Regions from separate parts of the Homo sapiens genome. Here region 1 is linked to region 2. The links are contacts of gene promoters, found by promoter capture Hi-C in blood cells and fetal thymus (Javierre and others, 2016). All regions are on one chromosome and are shown on one strand. The core of a region is centred on a gene start or on the middle of the fragment in contact, and the rest is flanking DNA. Distances in the headings are between cores, read along the strand shown. Region 1 overlaps PTPRE (protein tyrosine phosphatase receptor type E). Region 2 holds the start of MKI67 (marker of proliferation Ki-67).

Region 1 (3,892 bases), core at 245-2,744, 110 kb before region 2:
TCTTGAACAGGCAGAGGGCCCTCCCCAGACACCACATCCGCTGGCACCTTCATCCTGGACTTCTCAGCTTTCAGAACTGTGAGGAGCTTCTGTTGTTTACCCAGTCTAAGATATTTTGTTATGGCAGCTGGGCTGACTAAGACAGTGTGTAGAGGGAGTTTCCCGAAGGCAGGGCTGTGTTTGTTGTGTTCACCTTTGAATGCAAGTAGGTGCCAGTAAGTAGTGGAATGCATGCATGTGTGCGTGCAGGAGGCTACCACGGAATTAGACAAGACCCAATGTGCCCCTACCTCTGCCATTCTCTTGAAGTGTGCCTCAGGCCAAATTGCCTGTCCTCTCTGGGTCGTGGTCATCTCTGTTCTAGATGAGGATTCTGATCCTCCGTCCCAGACTGGCTGGCAAAGCAGGAGATGCACCACCCTAACAAGTCTGATGAGGACCAGGGCTTTGGCAGGGACCCCAGCTCCACAGGTCCCCTCCAGGCACTGGCAGAGGGTGCGTCCCCTCACAGCTGGGGTGTCCAGGGAGGTTGTGAAGCAGCTTCTCTGAGTTATAAAATATGGAGCGTTCTCTCCTTAGTTGCAATTTGGGGTCAAATGTTCTCCCAAACAACCGGAGGAGCAGTTATAAATAATGCATGCACATTGTTTGGCCCAATTAACATTCTTCAGAAGATGGGGGCAATTCTTTGAAGTCTCTTCCTTCAAACGGCGTGTATCGAGGGGGACATTGACACACCCCTGTTGGGCTGGGCCAAGCTTTTGCCCTAATTAGATATTTACACAAGAGACCCATGCGAGGAGGGCGGATTTATTTTTAATAAAAGAAGATTAAAATCTGTGTATCTGCAGCATATTAAGGAAGACTGAACCAAATTAAAAATTCTCCCACAACTTTGAATAGTGGGGGCCTGGAAAAGGAAGCATTTCACTTGGAATTTACTAAAAGTTGTTGCTTTGAGTCAGGAAGAAAAAAAATCAGCAATCCCCCATCCCCCGTCTCAACCCCAGCTTCACCTTGGCTTGTTGGCGCTCCCAGTGAGGGCACTGGGGGTGGTCAGCGGAGCCCTCTGCATTTGACGAGCCACTATAAACCCAAACCCTGTGGCTGGGCGTCCATTTGTGGAACTGCAGCCCCAGGCTGGTAGGAAGGAGACAGTGGAGATGACATGGCTGGGAATGGGATGGGGTGGGGGCCATGCTGACACTCTGCAAGCTCAGGGACCAGCCCAGAGGGTCACACAAGAGTGCATGCCACACCCGGTCTTCCCGAGAGAAGACAGATCTCCAGACTTTCATGTGGACTCCTCTGATTCTAAATATTTCAAACTAATTTAAAACCTTTGTAAACATATATACTTCCTCTTCCAACCTAGAAATTCCACTTACGGTTGTTGACCCCAAATACATGAAGAAATGTGTCCACAAAAAGACCTGTACCCAAGCATTCATAGCAAAGACCTGTACCCAAGCATTCATAGCAGCTTTGTTTATAAGAGCAAACTAACTGAAACAACTCAAATGTGTATCAAGAGGAGAATGGGGCCGGGCCTCGTGGCTCACGCCTATAATCCCAGCACTTTGGGAGGTCAAGGCAGAAGAATCGCTTAAGCTCAGGAGTTGAAGACCAGCCTGGACAACATAGGAAGACCTCTTTTTTTTTTTTGAGATGGAGTCTCGCTCTGTCGCCCAGGCTGAAGTGCAGTGGCGTGATCTCGGCTCACTGCAAGCTCCGCCTCCTGGGTTCACACCATTCTCCTGCCTCAGCCTCCTGAGTAGCTGGGACTACAGGCACCCGCCACCACACCTAGCTAATTTTTTGTATTTTTAGTAGAGATGGGGTTTCACCGTGTTAGCCAGGATGGTCTTGATCTCCTGACTTCGTGATCCACCCGCCTCAGCCTCCCAAAGTGCTGGGATTACGTGAGCTACCACGTCCAGCTGAGCTCATCTTATAATTAAAAATTGGCCAGGTATGGTGCCACATGCCTGTAGTCCCAGCTACTCACTTGGGCCCTGGAATTCGAGGTTACAGTGAGCTATGATCTTGCAACTGCACTGCAACCTGGGGGACAGAGCAAGACCCTGTCTCTAAAACTAATAAATAAAAGGGGAGAGCTGGAGAGCAGATGGCAGCACAATCACATGACTGTATGCTGTTCTGCAGTCCAAAGGAATGGGCTGCGGTGCCCATGAGAAAGCGGATGGGCCTTGAAGCCTGTGGCACTAGAGAAGCTTTAGGACACGAGCTGCGTGTTTCCACTTAGAGGAAGCTCAAGGGCAGGCAAGGGCATCTTCTCTGGAGGTGGAGATCAGAATGGTGTGGGCTTCCTGGGGTTGCAGGAGGGGACTTTTTGGTAGACTGAAAAGGGACAAGAAGGAGGTGTCTAGGATAGTGACAGATGTTCCTCCAGGGGACCAGGGCATGGACCATATGGGGGTCTGCAGCAGACATTTGCCCAAACTCATCATACCGTAGGCTTAAGGCCCATGCACTTAACTCTATGTAATTACAGCTTTTCAAAAAATGTAAAACTTTCAAAACACAGAACAGGTCAAACCCAGTAATACAGGTCACATTTAGTCAGCGGGACCCAATTTGCAGCTTCTGTTACAGTAAATTTGTACTCTTATGTTAACCAGGCACCCCCAGCCCCCAGGTGGAGAAACATCCTTCACCACCAGCCATCCATGTGGTGAGAACCTAAAACTACTCTAAAAGCATGTCTATTTTTTTAGACCAGTGCCACTATGCCTGGCCAATTTTTTTTTTTTTTTTACTTTTTTAGAGATGGAGTCTTGCTATGTTGCCCAGGCTGGTGAGGAGACAGCTCAGGGTCCAGGGAACAGCGTGGGCCAGGCTGACGGCGGTGAGCAGAGGGCAGTTCAGTGGCCTGGGAACAGCACCCAGGTGGCCGAGATGTGTCGGTCCCTGGGAGGTTGGCACAGCTCAGAGGGGACCACAGGGACAGCCAGAAAGGTCTCATCCCACCAAATCACTGCCCACCCAGTGGCCCCAGTCATGCTACTGTTTTGGATTTGTTGGTATGACTTGCCTTTTCACACAGGTGAGAGGAACAGACTCACCTTGTTTAGCCCAACGTGGCTGAGGCACAGCAGCTTCCTGCCTTCCTGCCGGGGAGACCTGTGGCCGCTGTGGAGCCGGTGCCGCCCTGGCCTTGGCTCCCTCTGCCCCAGACCAAATACTCAGGGGTCCTGTGAGGTCCCTCCCACTCCTCCTTTACCTTAGAAGAGTTTAGGAAATGTGGGTGGAAGATGAGGCACATCTTGGAAAGTGTAAGGCAGACCTCGTCATGCACACGCATTGAGCACCTGCTGTATGCGAGTCAGACTGCAGAACTGAGGGGTCAGAATGCTGGGAGGAGACAGCCCAGCATCCAGTGAGCAGCGTGGGCCAGGCTGATGGCAGTGAAAAGAGGGCAGTTCGGTGGCCTGGGAACAGCACCCAGGTGGCTGAGAGGTGCTGGTCCCTGGAGAGGTTGGCATGGCTCAGAGGGGAATGGATCAAAAGAGTTTGGCGGGGCAAGTGGGGCGGGCATTAAGAACATTAAGAAGAGCTGAGAGCTATAGAAATTGGAGGTAAGAGGCCTGGCACGCTTGCTGGATGGGCCAGTGTGCACATTGTGAGGGCTGCTGCCCGAGCTGGCCTCAAAGAGGAGTCTGGGTTCAACTCCAAGGGCAGTAGGACAGGGTGAGAATTTTTTTTCTTTCTCACAGACATTTTTTAGAGGAGTTTCAGGATCACAGCAAAATGGAGTGGAAGGTACAGAATTTCCATATGCCCTCCCCACACAGGCACAGCCTTCCCCACCGACAACATCCTGAAATGGAATGGGACATTTGGTAATTGGATGACCTACTCTGGGACAACG
Region 2 (4,159 bases), core at 777-3,276:
GGATGCCCACCCTGACCTCTCCTCCGCGATGACAGCGCATGCCCCTGTCCTATATTGTGACATGGAAATTCAAATGAATCCTGGAAGGTTAGATGACCCTCCTGTGAGAACCACTGTTCTCAAGAGATTGCAAATCCATGGCTCCAGCCCATGTTTCTACTGACCCTTGCCAGAATGCTAGGTATTGATCACACCCCCTATGCCAGACACCATCCCTGGCCCTACACACGTGATTAGTAACAAGACAGTCTTTGCCTTTGGGGAGCTCAGCCTAGTGGGAGACAAACCCACAACTCACCCCTGAAGCTGTGGGGTTGGAAATACAAGTTTTCATGCAAGGCTTCCTCAGAGGTGACATTTCACCTGATGCCTGAATGATGGAAATCACACAAGCTTGAGGAAGGGGAGAACTTTCCCATTGTAAACTTCCAAGTGTGTAAGAAGTACCAAGGTGAACAAAGGCTTGGAATGCCTTAGGCGGGAGGAACAAGGTAGGGGATGGGGTTGGGAGGACAGGGTGAGGCCGGGATGGGGTTGGGAGGACAGGGTGAGGCCTGAATCCCGTGTGGTCTGGGAAATGACCACACGGGAAATGACCCCCCTTCTCAGGCCTCTAGTGGGACACATGTCAGAGGCTGATGGGGCACTGTCAGCAACTATACCTGTTATACAGGGACAGGGTTATTACCACCACCAAACAGGACAGCAATATAAGAGGAAACGTTCTCGAATTCCAGGCAGGAAGACTTTCTGTCCCATTTTCCTATTGCCACAAGGAGCCAAGAGACAAGTGTATGGCTTCCTTCCTTCATTCTCTGTGTCCCCAGTGGCCAGGGATGCCCACTGTGGAGGCACCCGGGGGCGCACAGTGTCTTCAGACGCCTGCCTGCAGCCAGTGACATATGAAGATCATCTACATCTTTCTTTACCGCAACATTAGCAAATCGATTTTTTTAATTGGCTTGATTTTTAAAACCACTTAAACATACAAACTAGCATCAAATTTATACTTACAAAACAAAAAAACACAACTATGTCAACTTAGTAACGAATGGGAGAAGCACCAAGGAAAAGTGACGGCAGGACCCAATCCTAGAGCGCGTTTCTGGACTTTATTCTGTGACTAAGGTATTTTCCTCTTTCTCAGCTAAAACGTCCGCGCGCGCCCGCGGGGCTCACCTTCCAAACAAGCAGGTGCTGAGGCTCAGGGGAAAGTGGGGACCGTCGACCCCGCTCCTTTTGATAGTAACCAGGCGTCTCGTGGGCCACATTTTCTAAACAGTAAGTTGAGTATAATCCGTAGGGGAAGGCCAGGTATAATCCGTAGGGGAAGGCCAGAAGCAAATTTACAACTCTTCCACTGCAAAAGAGGTGCGAGTTACTCTGATAGCAAAGGAGCTAAGAAGGGCCCCGTGCCCAATTCACCTATCCCCGGCCACAGAAGCGCACACCGCAGCTAGCTAGCGGGGACCCCAGGACGATCCGACCGCAGCCCCCGGCGCCCCAAAGTCCGGCAGCTGGGGTGTTGTCGCCAGCGCCTGCGCCTCCTGGGAGCTTCCACCGAGACGCCCTCGCCAGAGCCCAGGAGGAGTCGGGCCCAGGCCGCGCGTCTGTCCCCTGCCCGTCCCCGCAGAGCTCGGGGGGTCCCCGCGGCTCAGCCCTCGACCCCGGACAGCTCCCAGGAGTCCCGGCCGCAGCTCACCTGGGACGATCCGGCCCGCAAGGCCACTTGTCGAACCACCGCTCGTCAAGTCGCACCCAAAGTCCGCCGCAGGAGGAGCCGGCGCCGCGCTCACCTCCGCCCGGTAAGCTGCGCCCGCCACGCTCCGCACACACCGGGCCGCAGCCCGCGGGGTCGCGTTCGCTGCACCCCGGCCTGCAGTCCCCGCTGCTCCCGCCGCCGCCTCTGACGGGGACCCGGTGGCCCTACAGGCTACGTCCCCGGGCGCCCGGCTCTAGCGGCTCCCACCGAGTCGAGTCCTCCCGCCCGCCCGCCCGCCCGCAGCGTCAGCCCTCCACTTCCTTCTTCCAGCCCGGCGCGCCCGCCCAATTCAAACGAAAACGAAGATTCAAATTCTGGCGCTAAGCGCTGCGATTGAACGGGAAAGCGCGGCATGGGACCAATAGGAAGGGAGCGCAGGGCGTGGGCGGGGAGGGGGCGGGGAAACCGGGCTCGCGGGGCGGGGCTGGCGTGTCCGCGGGCGAGCCACTCACGCATCCGGAGGAAAATACCTGGGTGCATCCCCGGCGAGGGCGGCTGGCGGAGGGCAGAGGTGGAACACGCTCCCACCGAGATAACCCGTCCTGCTATCCTTTTCTTAAAGGACCAAACATCTGGGACACTATAACATTACTCATTGCCAGAAGATTTAAAACTGCTAAAAATTAAAAACAGGCGGGACGCGGTGGCTCACGCCGGTAATCCCCGCACTTTGGGAAGCTGAAGCAGGAAGATCCCTTGAGCCCGGGAGTTCAGAACCAGCCTGGGCCACCTGGAGAGAACCCATCTCTACAAAAAATTCGCCAGGCGTGGTGGCGCCCCTGTAGTTCTAGCTACTGGGACAGCTGAGGTGGGAGGATCGCTTGAGCCGGGGCGGTCGAGGCTGCAGTGAGCTGAGATCGCGCCACTGCACTCCAGCCTGGGCGACAGAGCAAAGCCCTGTCTCAAAAAAAAAAAAAAAAAAAAAAAAAAAATCGAAACCTTCCTCTTCAGTGCATACATCTTACCAAACACAAAAACAACCAATTATATAAAGTAGTTTGGTGTGTCTTTTCCTGCTATACGTGTATTCTCTTTTTCAAAAGCACAGAAAAAAAGGTCATAACATACACAACACGATTCTATACTTTGTGCTCTCTGCTTTTAAATATCCTGAGGCTATCTCCACTGAACACATTCTCGCTTTTACTCTCTGATGGCTGCAGAGCACTGGGCTTCGGGAAACCATAATTTACTTAATCATTACTATTGCCACATACTTAGGTTTACAATGTTTTGTTATTAGAAAACATTCTTCAATTGAAATGGCTTGTGCATGCCAAGATGGGTGAATCCTAAAATAATTCTACACAGGATTCTATCGGGGTCTGCTTCAGTTGCGCTGGTGGCCATGTGGGCTCAGTAGGCCACCTGGGGTGAAGTGAATGGAGCCTAAACACGCTTTTGGTGACAACGGCCTCTCTGCCCCATCTCACCTCCTCCAGCTCCCCAGCAACCCTTGGAGCTTGGCTCCCTTGATCAGGGAGGCCTCGATGCAGGGGACCCCTGAGGACTTCCTATTCCTTTCAGAGAGTCCATAAGGTCAAAACCATTTATCTAATGACCCTCTGTGTTACTTGCCCTTCTCATTCTCATGCTCCCAAGAGTGTGGGGTGTGGTTCTGCAAATGCAGAAGCAGTGAGGAGACTCCCACTGTCTCCGTTTCAACCAGGTATTACAGAGATTTGCAAAAATGTGAACTAAAGCGCTGTTTTCATTTTGTTGTTTTTTTTCCATAAAAATAAGTTATTGGTGTTAGCATGAAATAGGTGCATCACTATCTTAAAATGAATCAATAAATGAATATTTTTAAATTCCTTAGCCTTAACTTAAAATATATAAATATAGCTAGATATAACCCATCCACATTAACAAAAATTCCTGGTGGTTCTCAATAATTCTTAAGAGTGTAAAGGGACCACAAGATTGAAAAGACTGAGCCCTCTGCTCTAGAGCAACTACAAAGATATCAGCTGCTGATGGAAATAGAGAAACTGGGAAAGCAACATAAAAGCACAGGACAGCAACTCTAAATTGTATGGGCCAAGTCTGACGTAGAAAAATTCAGTGCGGGGATACTATTATATAAACGTTTTAGGGGGCATGAGTTTCCATGTTTTCCCCCATTAAACGATCAAACAAAGCCCACCACTGCATAACCCCATAAAACACAACTTTTCTCATCCTAATTACTGCTTGTTTCCAGAGACAGTTCTTCCACCCTCATGGATGCAGCCTAATTAGAACTAGAAGGTGCTAGGCCAGGCGCAGGGGCTCATGCTTGTAATCCCAGCACTTTGGGAGGCCAAGGTGGGTGGATCATGAGGTCAGGAATTCAAGACCAGACTGACCAATATGGTGAAACCCCATCTCTACTAAAAATACAAAAATTAGTCGGGT

Evidence for each region. The method cuts DNA at HindIII sites, captures the fragments that hold promoters and counts their contacts. A CHiCAGO score of 5 or more calls a contact.
Region 1: a contact is called between a fragment that was not itself captured here and the fragment with the promoter of MKI67 in region 2, in 2 of 17 cell types (neutrophils and total CD8 T cells). The highest score is 7.0, in neutrophils.

The regions. Positions count from the first base shown.
Region 1 is chr10:128,013,720-128,017,611 of GRCh38, forward strand. The region is part of intron 2 of PTPRE (protein tyrosine phosphatase receptor type E); the gene reads left to right. Among named protein-coding and RNA genes, the nearest start is that of AS-PTPRE, 47 kb to the right of the region's middle. The HindIII fragment of the contact is 1,476 bases long and covers 757-2,232 here.
Region 2 is chr10:128,124,397-128,128,555 of GRCh38, forward strand. MKI67 (marker of proliferation Ki-67) reads right to left here and starts at 2,027. Exons shown (of 15, transcript NM_002417.5): 1 at 1,703-2,027; 2 at 1,180-1,360. The coding sequence starts at 1,271. RefSeq lists a silencer at 1,807-2,176 and an enhancer at 2,287-2,516. The HindIII fragment of the contact is 8,920 bases long and covers 392-4,159 here.